3 separate regions of the Homo sapiens genome follow, and all the other regions are linked to region 1. Evidence: promoter capture Hi-C in 16 types of primary human blood cells and fetal thymus (Javierre and others, 2016). All regions are on one chromosome and are shown on one strand. Each heading gives the region's core, a stretch centred on a gene start or on the middle of the fragment in contact. The rest is flanking DNA. Distances are from core to core; before and after follow the strand shown. Region 1 holds the start of SMG7-AS1 (SMG7 antisense RNA 1). Region 2 overlaps ODR4 (odr-4 GPCR localization factor homolog). Region 3 has its middle 1.8 kb from the start of ACBD6.

Region 1 (2,700 bases), core at 28-2,527:
CTCCACAATACGAACCGAAAATATAACTTGTAAAACGTCAATTTCTTCAAGTCATGGATGATGAATTTTCCAGCTATTTCTCATACACTTCATATTATTATTGACTTCGTTCTTTATTTCAGCTTTTTGGCCCGAAACCTGACACAAAACACACATAATAAATATCCAAAAAGATTTGTTCTAAGAATGAAACTTCTTTTCCTAGACTCCTTTCACCAGACAGATGTATCTAGGGTTCGTTCTTCTTGATCCTCTTTTATCCGATGTTTTCCTCTCTAACTCAACGACACAGAATGACGACTTTTAAAACACTGCAGACCCGTGAGAAGAGAAAGGTTGCAGAGCAGGGAGGAACTTGGAGGTCTGCCTTTAATAATCAAGCAGGATCCCCACTGCGGGGTGCCTATCAGAGTGATGGCGCTAGTCAGCCTTCCGGCTTGTCCCCGGCTTAAATGATAGAAAACCACGTGTTAGCCTTCTAGGATGTGTTCCCACCCTCACCCTGGCCTCCTCGCGGCAGGCTCGCGACAGCTAGGTCAGGAGGGAGTACGCGGGTGGGGTGGATTTGGGGGAGGGGTCGACTCGCCAGAAGTCGGCTATCCCCGTCGGCAGGGAAGGCATCGCGGCTGTCGTGTGCCGCTCTCCTCCCTCAGGGACCCCGTCCAGGCGGGATCCCGCCTCCCAGAGCCCAAGGCAGTTGTGGGGAAACCCCTTGCCCTTCCTCGCCGCTTGGCGCTGTCGCCTCGCCCTCCCGACTCCAGCCCGCCGCCCGCCAGCCTCCAGGCCATGCATCCTCTTCGCAGGCCCAGCCCTCTCCACGCCCGGCTCTGAGAGGAAACTACGGAGGTGGTTCCCGCTCGCAGGCGGGTGGAAAAGCCCATGGTGAATGCCTCGGGGTGTCCCCCCAGTTGCTGTGGGAAGTGGGAAGGGAGGAGGAAGTGGACTTCACCACCGGGGAGAACTATATCGATTCCTAACTTGGGGGAGGCCTTTAGATGGAAGGGAAGCCAACGGGGAACCCTGGGTGGTTTCCTGGGAATCCATTGGCCAAGGGGAGGGTGACCCTGTCCGCACACATCGGTTACTATGACAATATAACCACAGCCTCCAGTTGCCATGGCAGCTGCCTATCCAATCCGATTGTCTTCTCTTCCTCTCCGGGCCCCACCTTATCCCCTCCAAGAGTCTCCCAGCGTGCATGGGGAGGGGCTGCAGCGAAGAGGAGAGGGGGTCCTTCGAGTCACTCTCTACGCGCGAGGGAAGACAGGCGTTGAGGGACTGCTGGGAGGAACTGTAGGAGGAAGGGGCGGCGTTTCCGGTGGGGAAGAGTGGAGGCGTGCAAAAAGGAAGAGGGAAATCGGCAGGAGTGATAAGAAGGGGGAAGACTTTGAGTGTAACTCCCGTTCTTTTGGCCTGGGTGTTCCCGGTGGTGGGATTGGGATTGCCCCCTTGCGCGGGAGGAGAAGGGTGGATTGGCAGGAAGCCGCCAAGCGCCACCAGCCGGTCTCTCAGAAGCCGCACAGGCGCCACACAGCTCGTTGATCCCAAAAGGGAGCGCTACAGAGAGGCGGAAATCACTGAGGGACAGGCGCTGCTGAAATCTCGCGAGAGGGACCCCCTCCCTCGCCCGGTCGCCGACTTCCTCTGCTTCTCCTCTTTCCCCCGCCCCTCCTCCCTCCCCCTCCCCCCCGGGTCGGAGTGTCCCTGCGCCCCACGGGCCAGAGCAGCAGCGAGAGCAGCTTTCCCCACTCCCTCCCCCTCGCCTCATTCACCCCCACCCCCCTGCCGAGCGAGGAGGAGCCGGAGGAGAGGAAGATGGCGGCGGCCGCCAGCACCCGCGGTGCCGCGGGGCCGCTCCGAGGAGCCTGAGAGACCCACGGAGGCTTCGCGGGAAGACGCGGCGGCGGCGGCGGAGGATGAGCCTGCAGAGCGCGCAGTACCTCCGGTGAGTGCCGAGGCCGGGCTGGTACGTAGGGGGAGCGGGCCGCAGGTTGGGGCATGGAGCAACAGACACCGAGGTAAGTCCGGGGTGGCGGGGGAGTTGCTGCGTCCTCTCCTCGCCGGGCAGGTCGGCGGAGACTGCAAGGGGATCTGCGGGAGGGGGCGGAACGGGTATGGGTGCCTAGCCCCTACCGCCCGGGCTGAGCTCTGGCGAAGCCGGCTCGTCCCGGTGCGAGGAGGGAGGTTGGGGAAGCGTGAGAATGTGCGCGCGCGCCCTTGGTCTCGGGTTTGCTAGCGAGGGGTGGAGAGAAACGTCCGGGGAGGCGGCGGCGACCCCGAGTGGAGGTGGGTGTGGAGGAGTCTGATCCCCGTGGCAGGGGACTCGTGGTGTGGCGTGGGATTGGTTGGAGCGATGCATGAGTAGAGGACGGGGAGGAAGTCTGCACACCTGGGGTGTTGGGGCGGGGGAACCGCGGAGGGCAGACAGGGGGAGAGGGAGACCGCAGGAAACTGGAGCTTGTTCTTCATTCTCGGGTTGGGAGTATTGAGGAATAATGTCATCTGTAGTTAGTTGGCGGTGTGGGGAGGCGTGAAGGGGAATAGATGGGGAAGTGAGGAAAGAGGGAGGCACTGTGGACAAGGTTGGGTTTTTCAGAAGAAACTGGGTTAGAATCAGTGTAGTCGGAAGATACCATTCTGAGAGTCGTGTGTATTCATTAAGAGTGGTGTAAGGAACTTGTATGTCAGAGGTAGAGTGAC
Region 2 (2,700 bases), core at 32-2,531, 2.9 Mb after region 1:
TCAGTTGTAATGTGGGGCTCTTTTTGTTAGGAGTTTTCTATTTAAGTTTTTTTCTTTCTCTTTGTTTAAAACATTTAAGAGAAGAAGAGTCTTAGAGAAAGATGTGATCAGTAGAGATAAAAAGTCAGGGAGAAAGACCCTCTTCTAAATTTGTCTTAACTGGATAAAGGTTGTTTCTAAAGCTCAGGCAAACTGCCATCTTACAAATGAGTGTCTCATAATTTAAGGCCTTCCTTCTTTTTTTTTTTTTTGAGACGGAGTCTCGCTGTCGCCCAGGCTGGAGTGCAGTGGCGCAATCTCGGCTCACTGCAGGCTCCGCCCCCTGGGGTTCACGCCATTCTCCTGCCTCAGCCTCCCGAGTAGCTGGGACTACAGGCGCCCGCCACCTCGCCCGGCTAATTTTTTGTATTTTTAGTAGAGACGGGGTTTCACCGTGTTAGCCAGGATGGTCTCGATCTCCTGATCTCGTGATCCGCCTGCCTCGGCCTCCCAAAGTGCTGGGATTACAGGCGTGAGCCACCGCGCCCGGCCTAAGGCCTTCCTTCTATCTCTTTTTATGCTGTAGTATGTATTGCTCACGGACAGAGCAATTCATTCCTTTCAGTATTCTACGTGCTTTTTCTTCCAGAGTTCATTACTTTTTCCTCTCCTTCCTCTTAAGCTTGCCTGTTTCCTGGTCTCTGTCAGTTTCTTTTTCTTTTCAAAGTTATACATTTTATGAAGAAAAGAGGAGCCTTCTTAACTGAGACCTACTTTCTTTTCCTGTGTTTATTTGAATGTAACTTCCTGAAAATAACCTGTAGGAATAGTTACTCTTATTTTCTATCCCAAGATGATACTAATGATCAGAGTTTCAGGTCATGTGTGGGGAAGATACAATGCTAACTTGCATTAGCAGTGTTATTTTCACTCTTTTTTTATAGGAAACTTTCACTGTAGTGAAACTGAGCTATTGAATGTTCCCCTACATTTATTTTTAGATCTCCCAACTTTGGTTACTACTTAACTGATATTACAGCTGAAGAACAGATTGGGTGTGGTGGCTCATGCCTGTAATCCCAATGCTTTGGGAGGCCGAGGTGGGAGGATTGCTTGAAGGTCAGAGTTTGACCTAGCCTGGGCAACATAGCAAGACTCTGTCTCTACAAAAAAGTAAAAAAAAAAAAAAAAAAAAGCCAGGCATTATGGCTGATTGTTTGAGCCTGTAGTCCTAGCTACTTGGGAGACTACTTGGGGGGAGGATTGCTTGAGCCCAGGAGTGCAAGGTTGCAGTGAGCTATGATCACACCACTGCACTCCAGCCTGGGCATTAGAGCAAGACCCTGTCTCTAAATAAATAAATAAATACACACACACACAAAGAACAAAAAACAAAACAAAACAAAAAACTTGAGGAACATAGAATCTGTATCACTTTAAATTGTGTCCCAAATCCCCTTTGTTATTCTGTGGAAATGTATGTGGAAGTTCCCTACTGTCATCATTTCAATTAAAATAAGATACAAAAGGTCACTTGTTGTTTCATTTTACTAATATTTTCCGATCTGTTCATTTATAACTTATAAAACAAATATAACTAGAAAACTGAATAAGCATATTACTTTTTAGTTAATGTAATTCATTCACTCATCCAGTAAACCATTTTTAGGGACCACTCCATGATTTACATTTGAGTTGTCCAAATAAATAAGAAGCTGATATTAAATACATTAAAAGATAAACAACATGTGAGGGAAAGATTGTAAGGCCATCCTTGAAAATTAGCTTCCCTTTAGCTTCCATTATAATGTGGGTATTAATGATTTAACCTGTTACAAATATTACTCAGTTTTTGCATGTCATAAAAGCTAAGGAATTTAGGTATCACTCTAATTAGATTGAGGAATCAGATATCACTCTAACAAGCTTTTTAATTTGTTGTTGAAGTGTTCGTCACAAAAGGATTATGTGATTCTTGCCACTAGAACGCCACCCAAAGAGGAGCAAAGTGAGAACCTCAAACATCCCAAAGCTAAGTTGGATAACTTGGATGAAGAATGGGCCACAGAACATGCCTGCCAGGTTATCTTATTTTTTTGTTTATATGTTTAAGTTTTATTTCAAAAAAGAGCTAGAATCAAGAAGATTTAGTGAATGAGTAGAGAGAAGAGACATAGGGAGAAAGTAGCTAAAGATGACTGAGATTTTTAGTCTGGGTGTCTAGGAGGATACTGTTGGCATTACACGAGGAAGAAACAGATTTGGGATGGGTGAGTGGGAATAATGACTAAATTAATTCACTTACAAGTATTTATTGAATGAATTATATATCATCAAATAAATAATGTTAGAATAAGGTAAAAATAGAATTATTTCCTTTTCTGGGGTTGGGGGTGAGGGGAGGGAACTTAGAGGACAGGTCAATAGGTGCAGCAAGCCACCATGGCACACGTAAACCTATGTGACAGACTTGCACATTCTGCGTTTTTGTTTGTTTGTTTTAAGAAAAAGAATTTTCTTTAATAAATAAAAGATTTATTTCCTTTTCCAATCAACTTTAAATCTTTAAATCTTTTAAACTCAAACGTGTTTCTGTGTATGTAGATATATATATATATATATATGGACATATATTTGTGTCTGTGTATGTGTTTGATTATGGAGCAGTGTGTAGTTATATTTAAAAAAAAAATAAAATCTTGCCTGTAATCCCAGCACTTT
Region 3 (2,700 bases), core at 40-2,539, 3.0 Mb before region 1:
TGAATAATGAAAAACTGCGAGATGGGGCTGTCCCGTCTTACTGTGTGACTGATGAGTGGAATCACTGCTCTGCGTGTTTCGCTCTCCACACCTTCGGAGCCCGCACCTCTCCGGGCCCTGAATAATAGGGTTTGGGGAGTTCGGGGCGCGCCTTAGCCCAGTTCTCATCCCGAGCTCTGTCTTTGACACTGTGCTTTGTAGACACTGTACAGTGAAACCAGAAGTACGGCACAGTTCGGCCCTAGAGGAATGCACAAAACTATTTTTTTAACTGTAACATTATGAGTGGTTATGTCCTAAATGTTAAACACAACGACGCACTATATATTCATTTAGTATTCAAAACAATGTAATAAGCACTATAAGAAGGGTACAAAGAAAGTGTTGTAAACAGTGGTTATTGACTGGGGTTAGGCTTGCGACGGGTGGACGGACGGCTGGACAGGATGAGGAAGCAATGAGAGAACACAGGAAGGTGAGAAAGCTTGCATCAGGATTCAACAGACATTCCTTAAGTCTCCAGAAAGTTCCACTGTTAGTCCCTGCTGTCAAGGTGCTCGCAATCCAGTCAAAGGGATGTTTAATGACCAAATTCTTGCAATTAAAAAGTGATTAAGAATAATGTATTGAGGACTTGATCATTACAACATAAGGTAGGTACTCTTATTTTACTACACATAGGAAATCAGCACAGAGTGGTTAAGTAACTTGTCAAAGGCTACACAGCTAGCAAATGGAGGAGCAAGGAAAAAGAAGTTAGCTTTCATGTGGGGTAATAATGGATGATGAACCCGACAAGTAGACTGAAGGAGATATAACATGGACTTTTATATCTTTGTTTCTAGAATTTTTATTAAAGTGAGAATTGAATATTATCAACGGCTTTTTTGGCATCTTTGGAGATTATCTGCTTTTCTCCTCTAGTCTTCGAAAGGAATTATATTAACAGTTTCTATTTTAATGAATTATATTAACAAAAATAAATTTGGGATTTAATGAATTATATAATAGCTAACATTGATAAATTAGTATGCATTATTTCAAAACCTCCTAGTTTTGAGCATTACTTCTGTTCTTGGAATAAACCCATTCTGGTCCTGGTTTGGTTTTTTTAAAAAATTTGTAGGTTCAGTTTGCTAATATTTTCATTATCTTTACAGTTCCATTTAAAGATGTCATTAACCTATAGTTTTCCTTTTCTATACTTTCTCAATTTTGTATCAAGGTAATAGAATCCTTGTAGAATGCATTTAGAAGTTTTCATCTTTTTCTGTATTCTGGAAGAGTTTACATAACATGGGAAAGAGAGCAACCAGAATTCTTTTACACTGCTGGTGTGAGCATAAATTGGTACAATCACTGTGGAAAAATGTTTGGCACTATCTACTAAAGCTGAACATAAATATACAACAATTCGACTCCTCCCCAGCGGGAATATATACATGGCATTCACCAAAAACATGTACGAGAACATTCATAGCAGCACTATGAACTAATTCCTAATTGCTCCAAACTGGAAGCTCCTGAATGTCCATCAACACTAGAATGGAGATAAACTGGTGTGCTTACATGATGGAATACTATTCATCAGTGAGAATGAACTAATTACAATGACACAGAATAACATGAATGAATCTCAAACATAATGTTGAGTATAAGCCTATACTCAAAAAAGTGCATATTACATGTTTCTAGTCATAAAAAATTCAAAATCAGGCAAAACTAATCTGTGGTGTTAGACTCAGGATAGTGGGTAACCTCAGGGTTAGTGATCTGAAGGGTGCATGAAGGGGACTTCTGGAAGTTGGATATGTTGTTTCTTAAGCCGAACATTAGTACACTGATGTGTTCACTTTATGAAAATTCATTTATAATTTATGTACTTTTCTGTATGTATATTTGAATGAAAAATGTATTATAAAACTAAAATGTAAGAAAGAAAAAGGAAAGAGTCCTTAACATTGAGAAGCTGGCCTGACACTCACAGCTAGGCCTTGTTATTCTCCTATTGAAGAGAAATAATCTCACAAAATAGCAACTGCAGACAAGGTCACTCTGAAATCATGATACAATGATACAAAGCAAACCACTTCATTAAGCTTTTCTAAGCACAGACAAAAAGCTCACTTTACTGACTACAAAATACAACACCTTTTTCTTGGCCCAAACAAATAACTACTACTACTTTAAAATTGCAGCTTTATTCTCATGCTAGCCACTTCTCTATAGATAAGACTGAGATGCCCAAGATCTCAATCTTGTTACAGTAGGTAGCTAGTCAGGAATGAGCAGGGCAGGAGAGGGCTCCGCACCACACGCACATATCAGGAATGTCGGGCAACCATCAGGTGATGGTCAAGCGGTTGTTAACTGTCTCACTAAAATAATAATTGATCACAGCTGGCACCAGGGAACAGCAGGCTCCTGATAGAAAACACCTGAAACTAGTGATCAGCAGCTTCCCGATAAGATCTCAGGAGTGGGGCGAGTGGGCTCAAGCATGTGCATGCGGACAGCCCACCCCAAGGGAAGAATCGGGGAGAAGTAATGCAAGACCGCAGAAGTAAGCCAATATATAAAACCCCAAGGCCAGGCACACAGTGGCTCATGCCTGTAATCCCAGCACTTTGCAGGGCCAAGACGGGCGGATCATCTGAGGTCAGGAGTTTGAGACCAGCCTGGCCAACATGGTGAAACCCT

Evidence for each region. The method cuts DNA at HindIII sites, captures the fragments that hold promoters and counts their contacts. A CHiCAGO score of 5 or more calls a contact.
Region 2: a contact is called between a fragment that was not itself captured here and the fragment with the promoter of SMG7-AS1 in region 1, in 1 of 17 cell types (naive CD8 T cells). The highest score is 5.8, in naive CD8 T cells.
Region 3: a contact is called between a fragment that was not itself captured here and the fragment with the promoter of SMG7-AS1 in region 1, in 1 of 17 cell types (activated CD4 T cells). The highest score is 5.2, in activated CD4 T cells.

What each region holds. Positions count from the first base shown.
Region 1 is chr1:183,470,705-183,473,404 of GRCh38, forward strand. It overlaps SMG7-AS1 (SMG7 antisense RNA 1), which reads right to left and starts at 1,278. Exons shown (of 5, transcript NR_040063.1): 1 at 16-1,278. It overlaps SMG7 (SMG7 nonsense mediated mRNA decay factor), which reads left to right and starts at 1,795. Exons shown (of 23, transcript NM_001375584.1): 1 at 1,795-1,945. The coding sequence starts at 1,917. RefSeq lists an enhancer at 846-1,477 and a silencer at 1,633-1,782. The HindIII fragment of the contact is 8,906 bases long and covers 1-2,700 here.
Region 2 is chr1:186,381,096-186,383,795 of GRCh38, forward strand. ODR4 (odr-4 GPCR localization factor homolog) reads left to right here. Exons shown (of 14, transcript NM_017847.6): 3 at 1,927-2,061. Among named protein-coding and RNA genes, the nearest start is that of ODR4, 6.6 kb to the left of the region's middle. The HindIII fragment of the contact is 1,244 bases long and covers 660-1,903 here.
Region 3 is chr1:180,502,993-180,505,692 of GRCh38, forward strand. No RefSeq gene overlaps it. Among named protein-coding and RNA genes, the nearest start is that of ACBD6, 1.8 kb to the left of the region's middle. The HindIII fragment of the contact is 1,615 bases long and covers 483-2,097 here.